Regions from separate parts of the Homo sapiens genome. Here all the other regions are linked to region 1. Evidence: promoter capture Hi-C in human tissues and cell types (Jung and others, 2019). All regions are on one chromosome and are shown on one strand. The core of a region is centred on a gene start or on the middle of the fragment in contact, and the rest is flanking DNA. Distances in the headings are between cores, read along the strand shown.

The links. Contacts are between HindIII fragments. The study calls those that stand out against the background at their distance.
Region 2: a contact is called between a fragment that was not itself captured here and the fragment with the promoter of EIF3D in region 1, in 4 of the 25 tissues and cell types used here (dorsolateral prefrontal cortex, lymphoblastoid cells, mesendoderm cells and 1 more).
Region 3: a contact is called between a fragment that was not itself captured here and the fragment with the promoter of EIF3D in region 1, in 2 of the 25 tissues and cell types used here (IMR-90 fibroblasts and lymphoblastoid cells).

The regions. Positions count from the first base shown.
Region 1 is chr22:36,526,653-36,530,867 of GRCh38, reverse strand. EIF3D (eukaryotic translation initiation factor 3 subunit D) reads left to right here and starts at 1,702. Exons shown (of 15, transcript NM_003753.4): 1 at 1,702-1,792. RefSeq lists enhancers at 1,432-1,831, 2,142-2,191. The HindIII fragment of the contact is 12,569 bases long and covers 1-4,215 here.
Region 2 is chr22:36,261,794-36,265,644 of GRCh38, reverse strand. APOL1 (apolipoprotein L1) reads right to left here. Exons shown (of 6, transcript NM_003661.4): 6 at 1-494. Among named protein-coding and RNA genes, the nearest start is that of APOL1, 11 kb to the right of the region's middle. The HindIII fragment of the contact is 4,952 bases long and covers 1-3,851 here.
Region 3 is chr22:36,836,374-36,840,232 of GRCh38, reverse strand. No RefSeq gene overlaps it. Among named protein-coding and RNA genes, the nearest start is that of PVALB, 21 kb to the right of the region's middle. The HindIII fragment of the contact is 4,407 bases long and covers 379-3,859 here.

The sequences.
Region 1 (4,215 bases), core at 453-2,952:
CTTTCATTGTTTTAAAATTCCGAAAGAAAGACACCAGGAGGAACTCCATAGCCTGGGAGTTGCTGAGAGGACAGCACTGTTATCTACTGTAGTAAAGCAGTTCCTGAGTCGTCACTTCAGAATCACAGCTAATGCGGAGCTCTTGGGCTCCAGCATAAACATATCCGTATAATCTATCAAAATGAGACCCAGAATCTGAATTTTTAAAAATACTATCCTGGTCAGGTGTGGTGGCTCACGCCCGTAATCCCAGCACTTTGGGAGACCGAGACAGGAGGACTGCTTGAGCCCAGGAGTTTGAGACTAGCCTTGGCAACATGATGAGACTTCGTCTCCACAGAAGTTTTTTTTTTTTTTTTTAATTAGCCAGGCAGCCGGACGCAGTGGCTCACGCCTGTAATCCTAGCACTTTGGGAGGCCGAGGTGGGTAGATCACCTGAGGTCAGGAGTTCGAGACCAGCCTGGTCAGCAAGGTGAAACCCCGTCTCTACTAAAAGGAAAATTAGCCGGGCATGTTGGTACACGCCTGCAATCCCAGCTACTCGGGAGACTGAAGCAGGAGAATCACCTGAACCTGGGATGCGGAGGTTGCAGTGAACTGAGATAGCGCCACTGCACTCCACTCCAGCCTGGAAGACAGAGCAAGACTCCGTCTAAAAAAAAAAATTAGCCAGGCATGGTGGCATGCACCTGTAGCCTCAGCTGCTCCGCACGCTGAGGCGAGAGGACCACTTTAGACCAGGAGTTAAAGACCAGCCCGGGCAACATAGTGAGACGCTGTCTCTACAAAATTTTTAAAAATCATTAGCTGGCCGGGTACGGTGACTCATGCCTGTAACCCTAGCCCCAGTGGGTGGACTGTTGAGCTCAGGAGTTTGAGACCAGCCTGAGCAACATAGCAAAACCCCATCTCTACCAAAAATACAAAAATTAGGCAGGCGTGGTTGTGCGTGCCTGTGTACACCAACGACTCGGGAGGCTGAACTGGGAGGATCGCTTGTACCTGAGAAGTCGAGGGTGCAATAAGCCGTGATCCTGCCACTACATTTCAGCCTGGGCGACAGAGCGAAACCCTGTCTCAAAAAATAAATAAAAATAAATAAAAACACTGTTCCAGAAATCCCTGTCCTACAATTAAGTTTGAGAACTGCGGAAGTATGGTTTGAACTCTGGCGGTTAGAACCCTAAACTAACAGTCTGATCTAGGCAGGTCACTTGGCACTTCTGAGCCTCAGTTTCCACAACTATAAAGGCGGAGGAGTAACAATAAGGACCGCCTAAGACACCGACGGACCTCCCCTGCGCTGAGTTTCACATTAAGCAGGCAGGTAGAACAGGCGGGGAGTCGCGGGTGACGGTGGGATACATGGGGGCTGAGGCGCGCCGCGAAGCATTGTGGGACACAGAAGGGCGCCAGTCGCTCCCCGCCTCGAGCTTCGATTGCGCGGCCGCCAAGTTTCAGTGATGAACGCCCTCTTTGGGCGTCCCCGGATACCGCCTGACGTAGTGCCAATCACACCTCTCGCGTCTCGGCGCCTCGGAGGCTAATGAGGACGCCTGGCGAAACGCAGTAACGGATTTCCGGGTGGACCTTCGCTTTACGGCTCGTGAGTTCTTCCGCCCAACCCAGAGGAAGCGGGAGAGCAGTTTACGACAGCGCCGGTCGTGTTTACGGCGGCGCCCGCTGCGCGCGCATGTTTCCTCTTTTCCTGGTTTCTCAAGAGTGCTGCTGCTAACGCGGTCCCCGGCACGCACCATCTGTTGCCATCCCGGCCGGCCGAGGCCATTGCAGGTGAGCGGCGTGTTTCATAGGTTCCTGCGGCCCTCCGGAGCCGGTTCGGACTAGGTCCAGCCTTCGGGGGGCCTCCCGGAAGAGACCTCTCTTAGTCCCTTCCTGCTGTTGCCGTCCCTCCGCTGGGCGGGGCAGGAATCCACTTTCGGGGGCCCCGCGTCCCGCACGCTACTGAACGCGGGACACGACCTTGTGGGTGAGGTCCTTGGCCCTCGGCCCTGCTCAGTGCCCATGAGCTGGGTGAATTTGATTGTCACTTAACTCACCTGGGTTAAGACGGAGGGGTAACAACAAAGTCTTTCTGAAGTGGCCGAAAACTCCCTGACTTTTTGAGTGAGGTCTTAGGGGTACCAGGCTGAGCGGTGTTTGGCCCCTGTTCTTAGGAATTCACAGTGCATAGGTTATCTTTCCTTTTTTGTGAAACTGGAGGCTAGGATAGAGAAGTAGATTTGATCTCTGATCTTAAATCTACCCCACCCCCTGTTCAGCGATGGACGGCTTATGATCTGTAGTGGCCTGCCAACCACAGAGCCCCTTCTGAGTGCCCTCTTGGAACCTCCCTATCCTGCCCCTGTGACTAGTACAGCTGTTACTTCGTTTTTGCTGAGCGGCTCAGTTTCTCCTCCTGGTTCCGCTCTGCTCTTAAAAAAAAAAACATTTATTAAAGCCAGGGTATCTCATCCCTGGCTTTCCAGGGAGGTGATGCAGGTCGAGCCTCGGGCCTCTTCCCTTCTTGAGCTTCTGACAGAACCCGATTTTTTAAAGTGTGTTTTGAGACTCGTTGTCTTGGTATTATGATGTACGGTCTCAAACCCCTGATCTTTGCGGGCTGCTGCCCAGCTGTAATATAATGGAAAGAAGGCTGGACTGACAGCAGGCAACCCTGGAAATCAAATCTGTTTTGAAATGATGAGGTCAGCTGCTTGAGTAGGCTGAGCTTCAAATTTTTGCCTCTAAAGTAGGGGTGGGGGGGTGGTCAATGGTGTTAAATTATCTGGTATAGGGCCTAACACGTAGGAGCTCAGCAATATTTATTTAATACAAATTGTTCTGAGACCACCACCCTTTTTCTTCTGTCCTCTTCCTATAGTTTCTATTAGAAAGATGAAACTTCTAGGTTCATCCTGTGTTGCTGTCACCCAAATGTCATCTCTGAAGGAAGCCTCAATCTCCCCAGCATGGGGCTTTGAGGAGAGTTTACTAAGTTCAGCATACCTGTTCTTTTGATTGCTCTCCAGCCTCCAAGAAACATTTGATTTTTGTTTTTTTGAGACGGAGTCTTGCTCTGTTGCCCAGGCTGGAGTGTAATGGCAGGATCTTGGCTCACTGCAACCTCCGCCTCCTGAGTAGCTGGTATTACAGGTGCCCGCCACCACGCCCAGCTAATTTTTGTATTTTTAGTAGAGACTGGGTTTCACCATGTTGACCAGGCTGGTCTCGAACTGCTGACCTCGTGATCCGCCCACCTCGGCCTCTCAAAGTGCTGGGATTACAGGCGTGAGCCACCGCGCCCGGCCTCCAAGAAATACTTGTGTAGTGAATTTTCCTCTAGGAACTCGCCTTCTAAGCATTTTCAGAAGGTTACAACGGAAGATAAATGCATAGGTTTTTTTATAGAAGTGTCGGGCAGCCATCTGCTATACAGCGCCGGTTTTTTAATTCCCAAGAGGGCTATAGCATTATGCAGAGTGCAGACTCTGGGGTCAGACTGCTTTGGTTCACGTTTTTCATCCACTAGCATTTCAACTTTGGGCAATTTCTTCATTTCTCTGTGCTTTGGTTTTCTTATCTGGAGAGTGCGGATAACATTGGCTCCTACCTCACAGGATTGTTGGCAGGACTGTATGAATGAATGAGTGGTAAACAGTAAGAACAGTGCCTGGCAGTATTCATGAACATTTAACATGGCAACTTTGGGCCTGAGGTCTGTGGGGACCTCCTTGGCCCTCTGGCAGTTCTTCTGCCTGGCTTTATGTCCGCTTGCACTGCACACAGGATTTGCGTTGATGGCAGAAAATTGAAACAATGAGAAAGGAAAATTGAATTTCAGGATATACTTAAAGATCTTTTTTTCTCAGCACTCTATATACATAAATGCACTTTTGCAAGTCTGAATACTTGTGTGGCATTATACAAAGTGCTTAGAACAAGGATCTTGTTTATTTTGCAGATGGAAAAGACTAAGGTGGCTGGACGTGGTGGCTCACGCCTGTAATCCCAGCACTTTGGGAGGTCGAGGCGGGAGGATCATTTGAGGTCAGGAGTTCAAGACTAGCCTGGACAACATGGTGAAACCCTGTCTCCACTAAAAACACAGAAAATAGCCAGGCGGCGCTTGCCTGTAATCCCAGCTACTCAGGAGGCTGAGGCAGGAGAATCGCTTGAACTCGGAAGGCGGAAGTTGCACGCCACTGCACCCCAGC
Region 2 (3,851 bases), core at 155-2,654, 260 kb after region 1:
CAGCTAAGGAAAGAAAGTTGGATATGTTCTCACCCAAAAACTCCCTCACCTCCTTCAATTTGTCAAGGCTTTTGATGACCAGGTCGTGGGCTTGGGCTTGTGTCCACCACTTCTTTCCGTAGTCCATGGTACTGCTGGTAATCCCGGTCAAAGCGGCTGTGATTCCCAACTCCATCCCAGGTTCCAAGAGTACAAGGCTGCCTCCCTCTGTGAAGGGTGCCAGACCCATGCCGACGAGGGTCAGGATGCCAGAGGAAATGCTGAGAGAGCCAGACACCACATTGGCGATGGTGGTGCCTTTGTGGACCTTCTGAACCCCATCTGCAAGGGCACGGAGCCTTCTTATGTTATCCTCAAGCTCACTTTTCAACCGAGGAAACTCTTTCAGAAACCAGTTTCTGTACTGCTGGCCTTTATCGTGCCAGTTTTTGTCTTTCATGATCATTTGTCTTGCAAGGTTGTCCAGAGCTTTACGGAGCTCATCTGCCTCATTCCTGCACAAGGAAAGGTTAAAGGATTAAGAAATGCAGTTTTGGCTCGGTGTGGTGGCTCACACCTGTAATCCCAGCACTTTGGGAGGCCAAGGCGGGTGGATCACAAGGTCAGGAGATTGAGACCATCCTGACTAATACGGTGAAACCCTGTCTCTACCAAAAATTCAAAAAATTAGCCGGGCGTGGTGGTGGGCGCCTGTAGTCCCAGCTACTCAGGAGGCTGAGGCAGGAGAATTGCTTGAACCGGGAGGCAGAGCTTGCAGTGAGCCGAGATCGCGCCACTGCACTCCAGCTTGGGCGACAGAGCAAGACTCCAACTCAAAAAAAAAAAAAAAAAAAAGAAATGCAGTTTCCCTGTCTGTGAAATGAGCTCCATGTGATCTCTATCCTGTGTAAATTGCAGAGCTTTCACTATCGATCAAATAGAAACAAATTTTACAAATGGAATTAATTATCTTTCAAACTCAAACACATTTTGTTCATCATAGATACTCCTCAATATTTATTCCATATGGAAATAAATATCTTAAAGGCATCTCAGATGCTCTTTCATGGTAGGTGTTTGATAAAGATGCCTCCTCATTCAAGGGCAGGTCAACACCGTGACTGCCAAAGTGTTTGGAGAGGGAAAACTCTGCAGATGAACAAAGAGCAGTGAGAGTGAGACAAAGAGACCTTATTCCCAGGATGGCAGGAAAGTGAAGCATGAACTTTACCCAAAGAGAGGCCTTCCCTTTGTCCTCAGCTCCTGGGAAGTGATCTCCAGGCCCCTGGAATGTCCTGCCTGGTAGGAACATCTGTCTTTGCCTGGTGATTTGGCCACGGGACCGTATAGGAATCTGATGGATGATGGGGTTTGGGGCTATTTGGTGTCTTTCCTGATCCCAGAGGACCCGGGGACTAAAGGGGTTAGACCTCAGGGAGGGGCTGGAGACTCCAGGTCAGCCATGAGGGCAGCTTGTGATCCAGCCCCAGCAGATACTCTGGACACTAAGGCATGGGTTGAGAAAGAAGGACTTTCTCCTTGACCAACTCCAGCTGGGCTCTTCTGAGCCTCTTCTCCACTAGGCGCCGACCTTGGCCTTCCACAGCCACCCACTGCTTGCTGGACCTGCACCACCCAGCTCAGCAAGAATCTCCCCAAGTCAGTTTAGGGAGGGTCTTCCCCCCTTGCTGTCTGATTACGCTTTGCTATCTGATTATGCTCTTCACCCCCACCATTGATGGGTGAGTGTCTGACCTGCCTTTAGTGAGAATCCTGTTAGGCCAATTTAGCAGGAACCCCCCACTCTGGTGTCTCCTATCAGTCCTGTTCCATCTCCCGCCCCCACCCTGGTGTTGGCTGTGACTCCCCCTCTGTCTTTACTATATTTGGAGCTGGGCTCAGTCTCCCTCCCCTGTAACAACAATCCTGAAAAAAGGCTTCATTTCTGGTTTAATGTGATTCACAGGAATTTTTCCTTAACTGGGTGAGCTTCCCTGGTTGGCAACACCGCATGTGTTTTGTCCCACATTCACACAGGAGAACACAGCGTCCTGAGGACAATGAAGCTTCACACTTAAAACCCTCCCAAACTCTGCCCCGTGTGTCTCTTTCTTAGGCTGATTTTAATCTGTGTTCTTTCCGTGTGATCAACCACAATTGTGAAATAGCAGTTTTCAGTGAGTTATGTGAGTCCTTCCAGTGAATTACAAAATCAAAGGATGGATTTAGAAATCCCCTTAAATTTGCAGGTGGTGTCAAAGGTAAGGGTGCCCTCAGACATTGCAGTCTGGCTATCTCTGAGTACTTTGAATTCAAACAAAAACAAAACCCCGGAGAGACAGGAGTTCACTTTGCCTGGCATCTGCTCCCTTCCAATGCCTCATGCCCTTTCACCTGGCTGAAGGCTACTGGTTCTGGCCACTGCCCCAGCTGACTGGAGTGGGAGATCTGGCTATTCATTCTGGCTCCACATGGACGCTCCAGCCACCTTACTGCCTCCTGACCTACCACCTGCACCCCCAACCTTCCAGGTCTCACTCGCAGGTGTCACCAGCCTAACTGATGCCTTAGTAGTGACAGCTTCACCTGTGTGCACACCAAGGCCATTTGCAATTTTATGGAACCTCTAGAAGATTCAAAACACTTTCAGAACCACCTATATAAATTGCTAATGCTGAAAAGACCTGAATTTGGACAAGATGGTAGAGGAAGTGTTTTCCTCCTTGGTTGGGAAGTTGTGAGTCTGCTCAGTATCCCTGAAATTACACAAATTGGCAGCAACTAATTCTACTATGAAAATGGTCACTAAGACATACTGCTTGTCAATGTCAGGGGTTTCTCTGTGTAGAAGAGAAGAAGGTCTCAAAGGGTAGCCCAGAACTTGCCAGTTCCAAGGCGTGGTGTGAGAGACACAGGCAACCATGACCCTATATGCCCATGAGTGTTGGGATCATCCAGACAGGGAAGAAATATCCCTCTCCCACTCACATGTCCTCTGCAAGTTCATGACCTCCTTAAGTTTCAAGCCCTTGGTGCCTCTCTTTCCACACCCTAGTCCCAGCCCTGGTGCCCCAGCCTTCCTGCTTGTCCTACAACCAAGGCTGACTCTTGCTCCATCCTGACTCCAGGCTCTGACGCTGATCCCGGTCTCTCTGGGCCTTTGGGCAGGATCTTGGTGTTGGTTCCCCACCTTTGACCTGGAGTTGCCTCTAAGGCCTTCACCACACTCCTATCACATTGAGTTGCTATTCCTATTAGACTGATGACAGTTTCCAGTCTCTGACATAAGCCCAGAGCCCAGGGACTGGACACAGACAGAGCTGGAAAGAGACCCAGCGCTGTGCAACTCCACTCCAGCCTCTCGGCATCCTGGACCAGCAGAAGGGTCCTGCCGTGTTTATGGAATTCCTCAGATGAGAAAAAGGGCTCCAGCCAGCATCCCCAGGAACACACATTGGTTAGGTCAGGATTTTTCTGACTTGTCCCAAAGGTCAAGTCCTGCTGGGCTCCCATCTTCAAGAAGAAGATCCTTAACCCTGGTTCTGTTTCCACCAAGCTTGTAAGATGTTAACGTTAACTGTGCACCTACTGTGTGTCAGTCATTATGCTAAGCACTTTACATGCACGATCTCATTTTTCTCACAATAAAACTCCATTGATGAAGAAAGGCTGAAAGTGAGAAAGTAACTGGCAAAGTTCCCATCACCAGCAGATGGCAGAAATGACCCTGTTCCTGTGGGCTTCCTATCCCCTCAGCCTGAGGCTACTCACTGCCAGCGAAGGACATGGAGGAAATATTCTTCCTGGAGTGCCAAGAAGGTCATCCTCAAGCCCAGCAGAGGGGGCTGCCTGGAGGAGGTGTGCCTGTCAGG
Region 3 (3,859 bases), core at 1,333-3,832, 310 kb before region 1:
CCCAACTAAATTTACCAGCTGTTGCTCACAGCCAAGACATCAGCTAAATTAAACTTTGGAGTGGCAAACACGGTGTATCAGATGCACTTCAGTGAGCCATGGTGGGAGCAGCCACGCCCCATCTGTCCTGAGGGCTGGGGGTCATGCTCTCCCTTCCCTCCTGGAATCTGGCCACAGCAGCATCTTCCTTCCCTCAGAAGCACTAGGGTCCCGCCACTGGAGGACCATGGGTGTATTGAGTTACTTCCACCATTGAAAAGATTCTTCCTTTCATTCTACAGGTATTTACTGAGGGCTCAATTATTGACAGGCACTGTTGTGGCAGTGGGGAAACACCTGAGGTTTTCTTTCTCGTGACAGAGAGAAATGAGGAACAAATGAATGTATAATCCACAGTTGAGCAGCAAGAGAGCCTCGGAGCAAGGGAAGCAGATAGAGAGAGAAGTGAGGGTAGGGCTGGGTGTCTCTTCGGACATGGTGGCCGGGGAAGGCCTCTGATGAGGTGACATTTGTGTAGAGACTGGAATGAGGTCCTAGACACAGCCATGTAGGTATCTGGGGGAGAAGGTTCCAAGGCATGTTCTAGAACCAGCAGGGCAACTAGCAGTGAAGGAGGAAGGGCTGGGTGGGAGGAGAGGTGGAGCGAGTTGTGGGAAGATGCTAGCATTCTCCTCCATGTGCTATGGGAAGTGAGTCAAGGTTTGAGAATTGGGAGAAGGGTGAGGTGTTTTCCATCTGAAGTGTGTTTGGTTTGCATTTACCCTCTATGACAGCTTAGGCACAGGAAAGGTCAGACGTGGATTGATGGTGAAAAAGAACTGATGGGCCGGGCGCAGTGGCTCATGCCTGTAATCCTAGCACTTTGAGAGGCCGAGGCAGGCGGATCCCCTGAGGTCAGGAGTTTGAGACCAGCCTGGCCAACGTGATGAAACCCCGTCTCTACCAAAAAAAAAAAAAAAAAGAAAGAAAAAAAATAGCAGGGCATGGTGGTGCATGCCTGTAGTCCCAGCTACTCAGGAGGCTGAGGCAGGAGAATAGCTTGAACCTGGGAGGCGGAGGTTGCAATGAGCCGAGATAGCACCACTGCACTCCAGCCTGTGATGGTGAGAATTCAGGCACCCCAGAGCAGCTCCTGGGGATCCTTTGAGTGAGCAGAGTGGGTATGCCCTATGCTGCTCCTGTCACATATTGGGTTTGTGGGTGAAACTCTCCCTGCTCTGGACACACTCACAAAGCAGGAAGGTCTACCTGGCTGGAACCTGCATCCCTGTTCTCTGGAGGGAGGAAGCCCTTCCCTCACACCTGGACACTCAGGCCCAGCAGGCTCTCTGCTTGGGTCCAGCTGTGACCCTGTGTCCTGCTGCAAGGCCCCAGCTGCTCAGCCTGGCCTCTGAGGACCTGCCGGATTGGCAGGGACTGGCCGTCCTGGGCAGACACCGCAGACTGGGGCTGGCCCTCAGTGCTGAAGGCTCCTGAGTTGAACTGGCCAGCACACCGAGGCTGGCCAAAAGTGCAGCCCAGCACCAGCTTGCGAGGAGGCTCCCAGGAGAAACAATTAGAAAGCATCACAAAACACCTGGCGGACAACAGGGGCTGGAGAAATGCCAGCTCCTGCTCCAGTCACACACAGGCTCAGGCAGCATAACAGCCGTGAGACACACACGCCACCCAGGTGGTGTTGAAGACAGGCAGGGACCACCTAGGTGGTGTTGAAGACAGGCAGGGACCACCCAGGTGGTGTTGAAGACAGGCAGGGACCAGCCCAGGAGGAGCCTGACCAGTTGCTAACTTGACAACCTTACTCACACACACACACACAGACACACACACACCACACACACACAGACACACACATACACACACACCACCCCCCCACACACACATCACACACACACATACACATACATACACCACACACACACACATACACAGACACACACACACACACTGCCCCCACACACTGCCCACACGCACATACAAACACACAGACATACACCACCCACACACACACACACACACACCACCCCCCCCCCCCACACACACACACCACACACACACAGAGTCGGCTCCATATGAATAGGCTCTGATATGGTTTGGCTGTGTCCCCATCCAAATCTCATCTTGAATTGCAGCTCCCATCATTCCCATGTGTTGTGTGAGAGACCAGTGAGAGATAATTGAATCATGGGGTCGCATCTTTCCCCTGCTATTCTCATGATAGTGAATAAGTCTCACGAGATCTGATGGTTTTGTAAAGGGGAGTTTCCCTGCACAAGTCCTCTTCTCTTGTCTGCCTCCATATGAGATGTGCCTTTCACCTTCTGACATGATTCTGAGGGCTCCCAGCCATGTGGAACTGTGAGTCCAATAAACCTCTTTCTTTTGTAAATTGTCCAGTCTCAGGTATGTCTTTATCAGCAGTGTGAAAATGGACTAATACAGGCCCCATCACTCATTTCTGCAGAGTAAGGGCCCTGAGGCCCAAATATCACTCCCAGGATTCCATTGTTAAGCCCCAATTCCACCATTAAATTCCACTTGGATCACAGATGCTGCACATACACAACCATGGCCAAGCCTCTCAATTTTATGTTTATTGAACATGCAGAACAGCAGACATCACTAAAAAGGCGTCTCAGTCATGCCCAGTGTTCCAGTAAATTGGAGGTAGAAATTATGCCAATCAGAAAAAATACTGCCTTTTTGGCAATCACCAAATCACTAAAGCTTTATGTGTGTAGTCGTACTATTGGAGCATCTGCAGATGTCACACATGTAAATGCAACATGGTGGTCAATTAGAAAATCAACTCAATGTTTCTTTTAACAGATTCCTTAAGCTTCCTACATAAATCTCACTCCAAATTAACATTAGCTTTCCAAAGAGAAAAGAGCATTCTGTGACCATTTCCACTGCAATTTAATTCTTTTTTAGTTCTCAGAATGATGGCAAGGCCATCAGGAGTGAGGATGATGGCTCAGCATTTTTGGGGCCTCCTGAATATATCAAAGGGAGAAGCTAGAGGTTAAAACAGCCCTCAAAAGAGGAGCCTGTCATGTCAAAGGAATGTGCAGGAAGGCTGAGCAGAATTAATTTCCTCCTGGTATAAAATATTCCTTCTGATCATAAATAAATCTGCTCAGAAGTAACTCCAGCAAACCACGAAACTGTTTCGAGGGGGCTAAGTGGCAAATCACAGCTTTGATGGTGACAAAAGAGAAAGAAAGTGAGATCACTAGATTCAACTTTGTCCTTTCCTTGCATTCTTCAAAAGCAAAATCCCCAGCCTCCCTCCTCATCTCCCCCCACCCAAGAACTGCACATTTCTCATGGCCTAATATGAACAAAACGGTTTATGACCAGATGAGCAGACAGCCAGATAACTCTAAGGAAGAAAGAGGGCAGAAAGGCTAAGATGAAGACACAGGGTGGAGAAACTCTGCCTGGCTCCAGCTGCCTCTCTCACGTCCACCATCCTGCATCTGGCAACAGGAGTTCCCCAGTTGTCACGGGGGATGCTCCAGCTGAAAGGGTCCAGGAGCTATAGGACAATAGGACGTTACAGGCCTCTTCTTCCCACCTTGGAGAGAAGGCTCAATGAAAGAATCTTGTTTGCCTTTTATTTTTCCATTGTGTATTTCTTTTTTTTTTTTTTTTTTTTTGAGACAGAGTCTCGCCCGGTCACCCAGGCTAGAGTGCAGTGGCACAATCTCGGCTCACTGCAACCTCCACCTCCTGGGTACAAGCGATTCTCCTGCCTCAGCCTCCCGAGTAGCTGGGATTACAGGCTCATGCCACCATGCCCAGCTAATTTTTGTATTTTTAGTACAGATGGGGTTTCACCATGTTGACCAGGCTG